Regions from separate parts of the Homo sapiens genome. Here region 1 is linked to region 2. The links are contacts of gene promoters, found by promoter capture Hi-C in human tissues and cell types (Jung and others, 2019). All regions are on one chromosome and are shown on one strand. Each heading gives the region's core, a stretch centred on a gene start or on the middle of the fragment in contact. The rest is flanking DNA. Distances are from core to core; before and after follow the strand shown. Region 1 has its middle 73 kb from the start of TMEM74. Region 2 holds the start of TMEM74 (transmembrane protein 74).

Region 1 (4,895 bases), core at 1,581-4,080, 73 kb before region 2:
ATCACCTGGGAACTTTTTGGACATCAAAATTGCAAATTGCAAATTCCAGGATACCCACCCCCAGATTACTCAATCAGAAGCTCTGAGGGATGGGGCTTGCAATGTGTGTTTTAAGAAGTCCTCCAGGTGATTCTGATGCATGCTTAAGTTTGAGAACCAGGGCGTAATAAGACACTGAAAAATCAGGTATGAGCTTAACCAGAAAATATTATCAATCCAATGCCAACTCTTTAGGGATACGCTGCACATGGTTTCCCCATTGTTTAAATCAGTGTTTTCCAGCCTGAATTATAAATTGTAGGCTTGAAAACTAAGCTCTCTATCTTGAAACTATGTAAATATCTCATTCCTTATCAAAATGTCAGTTGATTCATGTATGAATTTATGTCTGTTGACTCATAGTTTCATGTTTTATTCACATGAATAAAGCTTCACCAAGTGAAGCCCTTCCCATGCTGCTCTAGCACTGGCACACCATGGCAGATGGGCCTCCTTGTGGATGTCCTCCTCATACTGCTCGAGCTCTGAGTACGCATATCAGGCTGCTCCCTGAGTAAAAGCCATTCTCATCCTGATCCAGTTTTGACACTCCATGCTAAGCATTATCACATGATCAGGATTATGGTTCAAAGTAATTGCTTCCTGGTACACCTTGATTCATTTAGCCTCCCATACTACCATGCTATATATGTGTGTGCGTGTGTGTGTGTGTGTTGTATTTAATACAAGATGAAAACTCATAACAAGCCTGTCAACTAAAACCAGGAATCTATTGCCAAAATCCCAGAAGAATCTGTAGCCCTTAGAATGTAACAGAAAAGAAACTGGGGATGGAGTGAGGGGTGAAGCTTGTGGGACATTGCTTCCTGGAGGTAGTGTTCTCTCTGGTCAGGTGTAGAGACATGAAGAGCTCTGGTAACAGTGCATGCTAGGAATTGTAGTTTTATATTTACTTTCCTGTAATGAGACCTGGGATTCTGCACACAGAAAAAAATATGTCCCCCTAGGATCTATTCCAGAGTTATTGACGATGTTATTGGAGTCCACAAATACATGAACTTTTGTTGGTTGGTTCATTGGTTTTAGTTTCCCTGGTGACTCTAGATTTGAACATCTATTTGGGAACCACTGTCTTTTATGGATCCTTAACAGATTTTGGCAATTTGGCTAAAAATTTAGCAACTGAAATAGCATATAAGAAGATAAGGCCATAGGAAATGGGCTGAAAACTGAGACAAGAATAGACTGAGATGATAGAAAAATTGAATTATATACAATTATAAAATAATGAGATAGAAAAGGAGACTGGTTAAGAAAAAATTCTAATGGCCTTAAACTTACAGTGGCAAAACTTGACAAAGAAAAGAGATGAATTAATTGGGTAAAAAAATAAAATGGCTATGTGCAAGACCAGAAAGATGCATTCATTCAATACATATTTTTTATCACCTATGATGTGCTGGGCTGTTGGAATACAGTGGTGAACACATGATACATGGATTCAGCTATATAATTGCACTCACACACTGTAAAGGAGATAGGCACTTAATAAATATTCACAAAATACACATTAAAACTGTGATAGCAGCTATGGGGAAAATCTATGGGTGCTATTAAGGGCATACATATACCATGTTAAAATTTGTATTAGTCAGGGTTCTCCAAAGAGACAGAGTCAATAGGATATACATGATATATGAGAGGAGATTTGTTAGGATTGGCTCACACAATTATGGAGGCTGAGAAGTTGCAGGACAAGCCATCTGCAAGCTGGAGACCCTGCAATGCTGAAAACATCAAACTCAGTCCAAGTCAGAAGGCCTCAGAGCCAGGGAAGCTGATGGGGTAACAGTCCAAGGCCAAAGGCCTGAGAACCCAGGGGGCCACTGGTGTAAGTCTTGGAATTTAAAGGCCAGGGAGCCTGGAGTTGTTGCATAGGGACAGGAGAAAAAGAGTGTATCCCAGCTGCAGCAGACAGATCAACACATTCACCTTTTCTCTGTTTTTGTTCCCTCCAGACCCCCAGCAGATTAACGACACCTTCCCACACTGAGGGCAGTTCTTTCCTACCTGGTCCCCTCAGACTCACATGCTAATCTTCTCTAGAAACACCCTCACAGACACCCCAAAATAATTCTTTACCAGGCTTCTAGGTATTCCTTAATCCAGTCAAGTTGATACTAAAATTGACATAAGACTAATCTGGTCTAAAAGAGAAATAACAAGGTAAAAATGTATAGATATTCTAGAGGAGGACAATAACTGAATAACTGAAATAGAAGACAATAATAGAATAACTGAAATAGAAGAATTAATCTGTCACAGTGGAATACAATTGTATGGAGTTCAAAATACTAGGATAGTTAGATGAAATTCTCGGCAAAATTACCAAGAAAGGAGATATAGATACCCTCTGGCACAAAAGTTAAAATCTAAGAATAAAGAAAAAATTCTTCAAGTGACAAGGGAGGAACAGGTGACTGACAAAGATAGAAAATGAGTTGTCTCAGATGTTGGCGAGGCAGCAAAGAAAAGGGAACGCTTATACACTGTTGGTGGAAATGTACATTAGTGCAGTTACTGTGGAAAGCAGTTTGAAGATTTCTTAAAGAACTCAGAACTACCAGTTGAACCAATAATCCCATTACTCTATGAATATCCAAAGGAAACAAATCATTCTACCAAAAAGACACATGAACTTGCATGTTCATTGCAACACTATTCACAATAGCAAACACATGGACTCAACCCAGGTGCCCATCAATAATAAACTGGATAAAGAAAATGTGGAATATATATACCATGGAATACCATGCAGCCTTAACAAAGATCAAAATCATGTCCTTTGCAGCAACGTGGATGGAGCTGGAGGCCATCCATGTTTCCATTCTATTTTTAATTTACTAGTGATTTCCTTTACATATTGAAAAATCATTCAAATTACATTTTTCTCATTATTACATGACATAAACACAACATAAACACAACTCCGATATTTAAGCATTCTATATTGTATCTTTTCTTTTTTGTCAAAAGCTACAGAGCTGTATAAAATTTCCTTTGTAGAATGTGTTTCTATCTATATTACCTGCTTTTTAATTTTCTTTTTTAAATATCAATTTTTATGTTATGCCATTTGGCATATAAACATGTTTAGTGATTTATATCATATAACAAATATCTTTATTTAAGCTAAATATCAGGTACTTATGGACACAAAGATGGCAACACTAGATGCTGGAGGCTACTAGTGGGAGGAGGGAGGCGAGGGCTAAAACACTGCTAGGTACGATGACTCACTGCCAGGGCCAGGGGATCATTCATACCCCAAACTTCAGCATTACACGATATACTCAGGTAACAAACTTGCACTTGTGGCTCCTGAGCCTAAAATAGAAGCGGAAAAAGAAAAAAAAATGAGTTGCCTTTAAACAGTTCTGCAATGGGAAATTTTGGGAAACAGTGAATCATCATTTAAAAAAAACTGGAGAAGAAAGGCCTATAATACAATCATTTTATAGTCAGACAAGTTGTCTGACAAGTTGTGTTTATGTCATGTAATAATGAGAGGAATGTAGTTTGAATGACTTTTATATGTAAAGAAAATCACTAGTACATTAAAAAGCGAATGCACACTTTCTATATCACTGGAAATAAGTGAGAAAGCATAAAGTATAATAAAAATACAAAAAACATATACAGGCAAAGATATATATAATAAATGGGGCTAAACTTTTTTAAATTAAAAAAGTCTAACCAAATGCTGCTAAGAAGACATAAAACAAAAATTAAATTATATAGATAGCTTAAAAATAAACAGGTTTGCAAATATTTATGAGACAAGTAACCCTGGTGACAATTTTAATAGCAGACAATATAGAATTTGAAGTGAAAGATATTCATTAAGCCATAGAATACAAGTTTACTTTGAAGAAATTGTAATTCATAAGAAAGATAATAAATCACTAAACATGTTTATATGGCAAATGACATAGTATAAAAATTGATTAAAAAAAGAAAATAAAAAAGCAGGTAATATAGACAGAAACACATTCTACAAGGTAAATTTTATACAGCTCTGTAGCTTTTGACAAAAAACTGCAATGTAGAATGCTTAAATATAGTAATTACTAAGAGCAAACTTCCAAATACATTTCAAACTTTTACTCCATGAACAGAGAACATGCTTTGCCTTCAAACATCACTACACAGTAAATCAAAATATGCAATATGTTCCATGATGTAAAAAGTTACATAGGATATATTCCTAATAAAATGAAATATTAGAAATTGATTTTAAAATTTCAGTACATTAAAACTATTAAATAATTAACGAATTCAAAAACTCTTTCATCACCTACAAAAGAGGTAACCTGTTTAGAAATGGTGCTAAAGGGGCAAATGAGATATTAAAGTGTCTGTTCTCTGTTCTGACTCTGAGTCACAGAGAAAATTAATGTTAAAATTATAGATTAGAAATTTTAAAATTAGAGGACTGTACATCAAAGTTATTCAATGCACCCAATGTTACAGTGAGAGGAAAATTTACAACTTTATGTTATTTCATTATTAAACAAAACAGCATATTCATCTATTAAATGAGTATTTAACTCAAGAAGTTTAGAAAAATTAGGTAAAAAGCATGCAGGAGAAAATCATCAAAGAGAACTATTAAAAATAAAATGAGAAATTATTTAGTAAGTAAACAGCAAAACAGTAACATTGGTTTAAAACATCAAAGGGGAGTCTCTTTAAGAATTAAAAAAAAACAAAAAATACATGTAAAATATATTCAATAAAAAATGGAACATAAAAGTTTATAAAATTAATAATCAGAATATATATAAACAGAGAGAGGGAACACTGAAATATTTCAGAGCATATTATACATATTT
Region 2 (4,797 bases), core at 889-3,388:
AAAAGGATCCCTCAAACGAGAAGGCAAGTTTCCTGTAAAAAGACAAATGAGAAAGGCAAGAGCCCTTTTTAGCAGAGCTGCCGATTTTCTGGAGGACTTGGGGAAGCATAGACTTGTTAATTCAGTAAGATTGTAAGTGTTTACACTCTCCCTAGTTCAGAGCAAATTCTAATACAGATTAGCTTTGGAGCATCACCATCAGTGAATGACTATACACCCCTATCAGCTGGGCAGGAACTCAGCATTTTGATTCCATAGCTCTGAAGTAGATGAAAAAGGCCAGCTTAATCAGCCACCTCTGCTAAGCTTACACCTCATACATCCAATGACCCTAGTGACACAGCCCTGTATTTACAAGACCATATGCTGCTTATTCACTGTGCTTCCACTTAGCCCTATTCCCTCACTGCTCCATGGGGGAAGCATGTTCTGGACCCCAAAGCATACAGGCAACAGACCTTACGGCAATCCCTGCAAAATACAATGGGCCAACCCACTCCTCCACACACACACCTGCCTGCTCCAGCTGCAGGATCTGCTACTCCCGTTCCCTGGGTCTGTGTTCCTCCCTCTCTGCATGCTTTGCTATCACACAATGCACAAGAAATTGACCATCTGGATAGTTTTACAAACCCAATCTAGAAGTGAACTGATAATAAAAGACAAACTATAAACCCACAGAGTAAGAGTTCTGTGGAGACAAATAGGTGAGAAGCTATTTCCAAGGTTACCTCTGTAATTTTATAAACATGTCACTCCTCACCCCCGACTGCAGCAAGGGGCATTTCTGGGAGAGAACTTTGGTTTGAGCAGAAAACCATCGGCTTTTCTCTGCCTCTGCCATGTTTCTAAGGAATAAAAATTCACTTTCCACTATCATTAGAGATTTTAACCAAAGGCTCCTTTTATTTTGCTTCCAAATCCAGGGTGATAATTGATTTAACCCAACGGCTTGAGGCTTCTTATAATTCAAAATCCACAGCTCCAAAGCTGGTAACAGAAACACAGGCAAGGGTCACCTAAGGTCAACCTGGCAACTCAAAATATGGGAGAGGGAATTGACATGTTTTCTGCTACACCTAAGAGTTTGTTTAAAACAAAACAAAAAAAGCAAAACAGAAAACGTTTTTCTCCTGTTATCGGAGTTTCTCTACAGTGAAAACAGCAAAAAACAACAGGGCAAAAGAATCACTACTAAACTAGAACAAACCCCCACTAAAGGATCCCTCAATGAATGAAGTGATGGTAACAGGCTTCATCAATTACCGATAACTCTTCTTCCAGTTTTCTCAGGCATTAGGGGCTCTGATTAACCTTTGGTACCATTAACTCATCACACTAGCCTACCTTGGATAAAATCAGCAGGGTTCTTTGAGACTTTCAGTTTATAACAAAAGAAGAGAGAAATCCCCACTTAATTCCCTACGGCCGCCTCTACCTCTCTTTAAAGAAAAGCTACTCCCGCTTGTTCGCTTGTTCTACCGGAGGTATGCTAGCAGCACAGTCGATTTCCTTTGCAGCTCCCTAATCCGGGGTTTCCATTCTCAGTGGAGAATGGATAATCCCAGGGGACCAGCTAAAGACTCTTTTCTTCCGTCCTCTCCCTCTTTTTCCTCTGATCTGCTTAAAAGCCCAGTTAACGACATTGCACCTTAAAGCGAGGGGACACGCACTTTCCCTCGTCCATCTGTCATCAATTAAAAGCATTAATATTTGCTTTAAACTGACACAGGCAAGGCTGATCTCGGGGAGGCGACCTCTGGATGCGCCCTGTGCGAGCAAAGCCGGGAGAGCGAGCCCCAAGCACCTGGCAGCGGTGCCCCCAGCAGGCGCCGAGGAATCCGGCTATCCATTTCTGGTGAACTCTGCGCCCACTGAGGCATTCGAGGTACGGATGTGTCCGCCTAGTACTCGGAGACGAAGGAGAGAGAGCGGGGATATGCGCTCCAGCTCTGCTAGGCTCCAGGGCTCTCACCCTTGCATTCAAAGCCTCCACCCCATCCCACTCCCCGCCACTCACCTTCTGCTTCGGCCACCCGGTGCGGCTCCAGCACCGCGCGCTCTCCCGGCACGGTTCCCGGAGAAAGTCCCCCAATCACCAGCTACGGCACTTGTAGCCTCTGCACGCCGCTCGGCTCCGCCGGGTGGGCAGCGCCCGCCACGGCGGGCGGGGTGGGGCGGGGCGGGGCGCTCCCGGAGCATCCCGGGAGTTGTAGGCCAGGGGCGGTCCCTGCATCCCTCCTGTCTCTGTCTCCTCCCACGCCTTCTGGGTTTTACCCTTCCTGCAGATGAGTTCCCGCCATACCCTCTTACTCCTCCCCAGCACTTAAGAAGACAGCACTGTTTTCTAAGCCTAGAGTGGAGTTCCCTAGCCTCAGGTGTGGCCACAAGACTGTGAAAAGGAAAGTATATTCGACTTCAAATGTGCCAGATAATTTGCATATTTTGTCTTTTTAATAGTCAAAACAAATCTTCCAAGTAGATTTTATTAATCCTCATTTTACAGATGTGGAAACAGGCTCAGAGAGGGTAAGTGCCTCATCCACAGTTACCAACAGCAGCTTCTGAAATTGCATCCAGGAGTCAGATTCGAAAGTCATTGCGTGTCTCACAAAATCAGAAGAAATATGACCATAAGGGGTAAGAGATTGTCCGATGTACCAACACATCCCCTGTATTTAGCACAGTGGTATTCGTTGAATGTATGAATAATAATGACTCAAAATAACAGTTAACATAAATAGCGCTTATTATTGCCAGGCTCTCTTCTAAGCACTATAGATACATTATCTCATTTAATGGTCACAATTTATTGTTAAAGTACTGTAAAAAAAAATCCTCATTTTAACAGAAGGCAAAACTGAGTTACAAAGTAGAATAATTTGCCCAATGTCACACAACTAATACTTAGCAGAGGTGGGGGGGGGGGGATGAACACCAACAGATTCTAAGCGTTATGCTATATGGAATGAATGGAAGAAAGACCAGAAGGCCAGAATAAAAGGGCTCAGGAATAAAGGAAATCTGAAGGTTGAATCTTCTGAGTTGTGACTCTTAGGATAGGACAAGGTAACTGTGTCACCAGCCTCTTTCAACCAGAGTGGACTGCAATAGCCAACAGCCACTGAAAGCCCAGGGTATGTGTAGCTTGCAGATAATCTCCAGTTTTCCAGCATCCTGTTGGGACAATTCTAGGGGAGCAAAAAAGGATTATAGTATGGATGGGCTGGGCACGATGGCTCACGCCAGTAATGCCAGCAATTTGGGAGGCCGAGGCGGGCAGATCACGAGGTCAGAAAATCGAGACCATCCTGGCCAACATGGTGAAACCCCGTCTCTACTAAAATAGAAAAAATTAGCCGGGCGTGGTGGCGCGTGCCTGTACTCCCAGCTACTCAGGAGGCTGAGGCAGGGGAATCGCTTGAAGCCGGAGGCGGAGGTTGCAGTGAGCAGAGATCGTGCCACTGCACCACTCCAGCCTGGCGACAAAGCAAGACTCCGTCTCAAAAAAAAAAAAAAGAAAAAAAGAAAAAAGGGATTAGGGATTATAGTATGTATTATGACATTGTGCTTGTAGCTCACATAAATACTGTGGTTGCTTGCTTTCAAAAGAGAGATCTATCTCCTTTAATGACAATTATGTTGGTATTTCATTACATTGGATAGAATCTATAGTCACATGATTACAGGAGTTCACAATGCTCCCTCTTTAAAATTCTTTTTCCCCCATATGATTATATTTGTAGCCAGTGAGGCCCATTTGTTGATAAACATGACAGATGTATTATGACTTCTCCTTTGCTTACTACACGGTTCTCCAGCATGAATATCTTTCCTCCACTGCCCTATTCCATCCACACTTCAAGGACTAGTTTGTCAAGCCAAATCTACAGGGATGCATCCAGTTCTTAGTACTACATATGCAAAAAGAAATAAAGAGAGAAACTAAGATGTAGAAGGAACTTGAATTTATGTTGACGAGGAAAAACTTAGGAACTTAGGCTATTTAGCCATAGGAGAATACTGAGAGGAAACAATAAACTAGCTTCAAATATTCTGAAGTTTCTAAAAATAGAAGAAGAATTCTATAGTATATTTAAAAGGGTAAAAGCAGAACAAATAACAATAATACTTTTTTGTTAGTGCTATTATGTTATCATCTTTAATTTTTACACCAACTTCACAAGGGAGGCAGTATTATTGCACCCATTTTGCAATGTAGAAATTGAGGCTTGAAAAGATGTAGTTTCTTTTCCAAGGCCTGAAAACTAATATCGGGCAGAGCTAAGGTTCTAACTTGGGTCTGTGTGATTCCAGAGACTTGATCTCTTTGCCAACACATTATACTGAGCAATGCTTCACAATCTTTTTTACAGCAGAGTACACATAAGAGGTGATACTATTTATGGCAATGTGATAAACACAGGAGGTTTCTCATGGCCATAGTTCTGGGGCTGTGGGTACTTCAGTCTCTGCAGGACAGCTTGGAGGGCTAAGGAAATAAATAAGTCAGCACACCTGTGACACACTGGAGTGCTGGAGGATGCCAAAGCACTGATCTGAGAAGCTCTGGATAGCACTATTAAATTTAAGAAGGAGGCTGATTTGAGACTTTGTATAAGGAAGGACATTATTTCTAAAACTTTTAAATTGATGTCTCATGAAAGCAAATTCTCTGGTACTGGTGAGGATTAAAAAAAAAAAGGAGAGCCATTTATTAGTGATTTCATAGAAGGGATTCATCTAGTTGGATTAGAGGACCTCTGTGATTCCCAGGCTGAACTGATTTTAAGTTAC

What was found. The method cuts DNA at HindIII sites, captures the fragments that hold promoters and counts their contacts. A contact is called where the count stands out against the background at its distance.
Region 1: a contact is called between a fragment that was not itself captured here and the fragment with the promoter of TMEM74 in region 2, in 3 of the 25 tissues and cell types used here (H1 embryonic stem cells, hippocampus and pancreas).

What each region holds. Positions count from the first base shown.
Region 1 is chr8:108,712,025-108,716,919 of GRCh38, forward strand. It overlaps a transcript of TMEM74 not described here. Among named protein-coding and RNA genes, the nearest start is that of TMEM74, 73 kb to the right of the region's middle. The HindIII fragment of the contact is 7,955 bases long and covers 1-4,895 here.
Region 2 is chr8:108,785,456-108,790,252 of GRCh38, forward strand. TMEM74 (transmembrane protein 74) reads right to left here and starts at 2,139. Exons shown (of 2, transcript NM_153015.3): 1 at 2,021-2,139. RefSeq lists silencers at 1,365-1,659, 2,075-2,254. The HindIII fragment of the contact is 13,104 bases long and covers 1-4,797 here.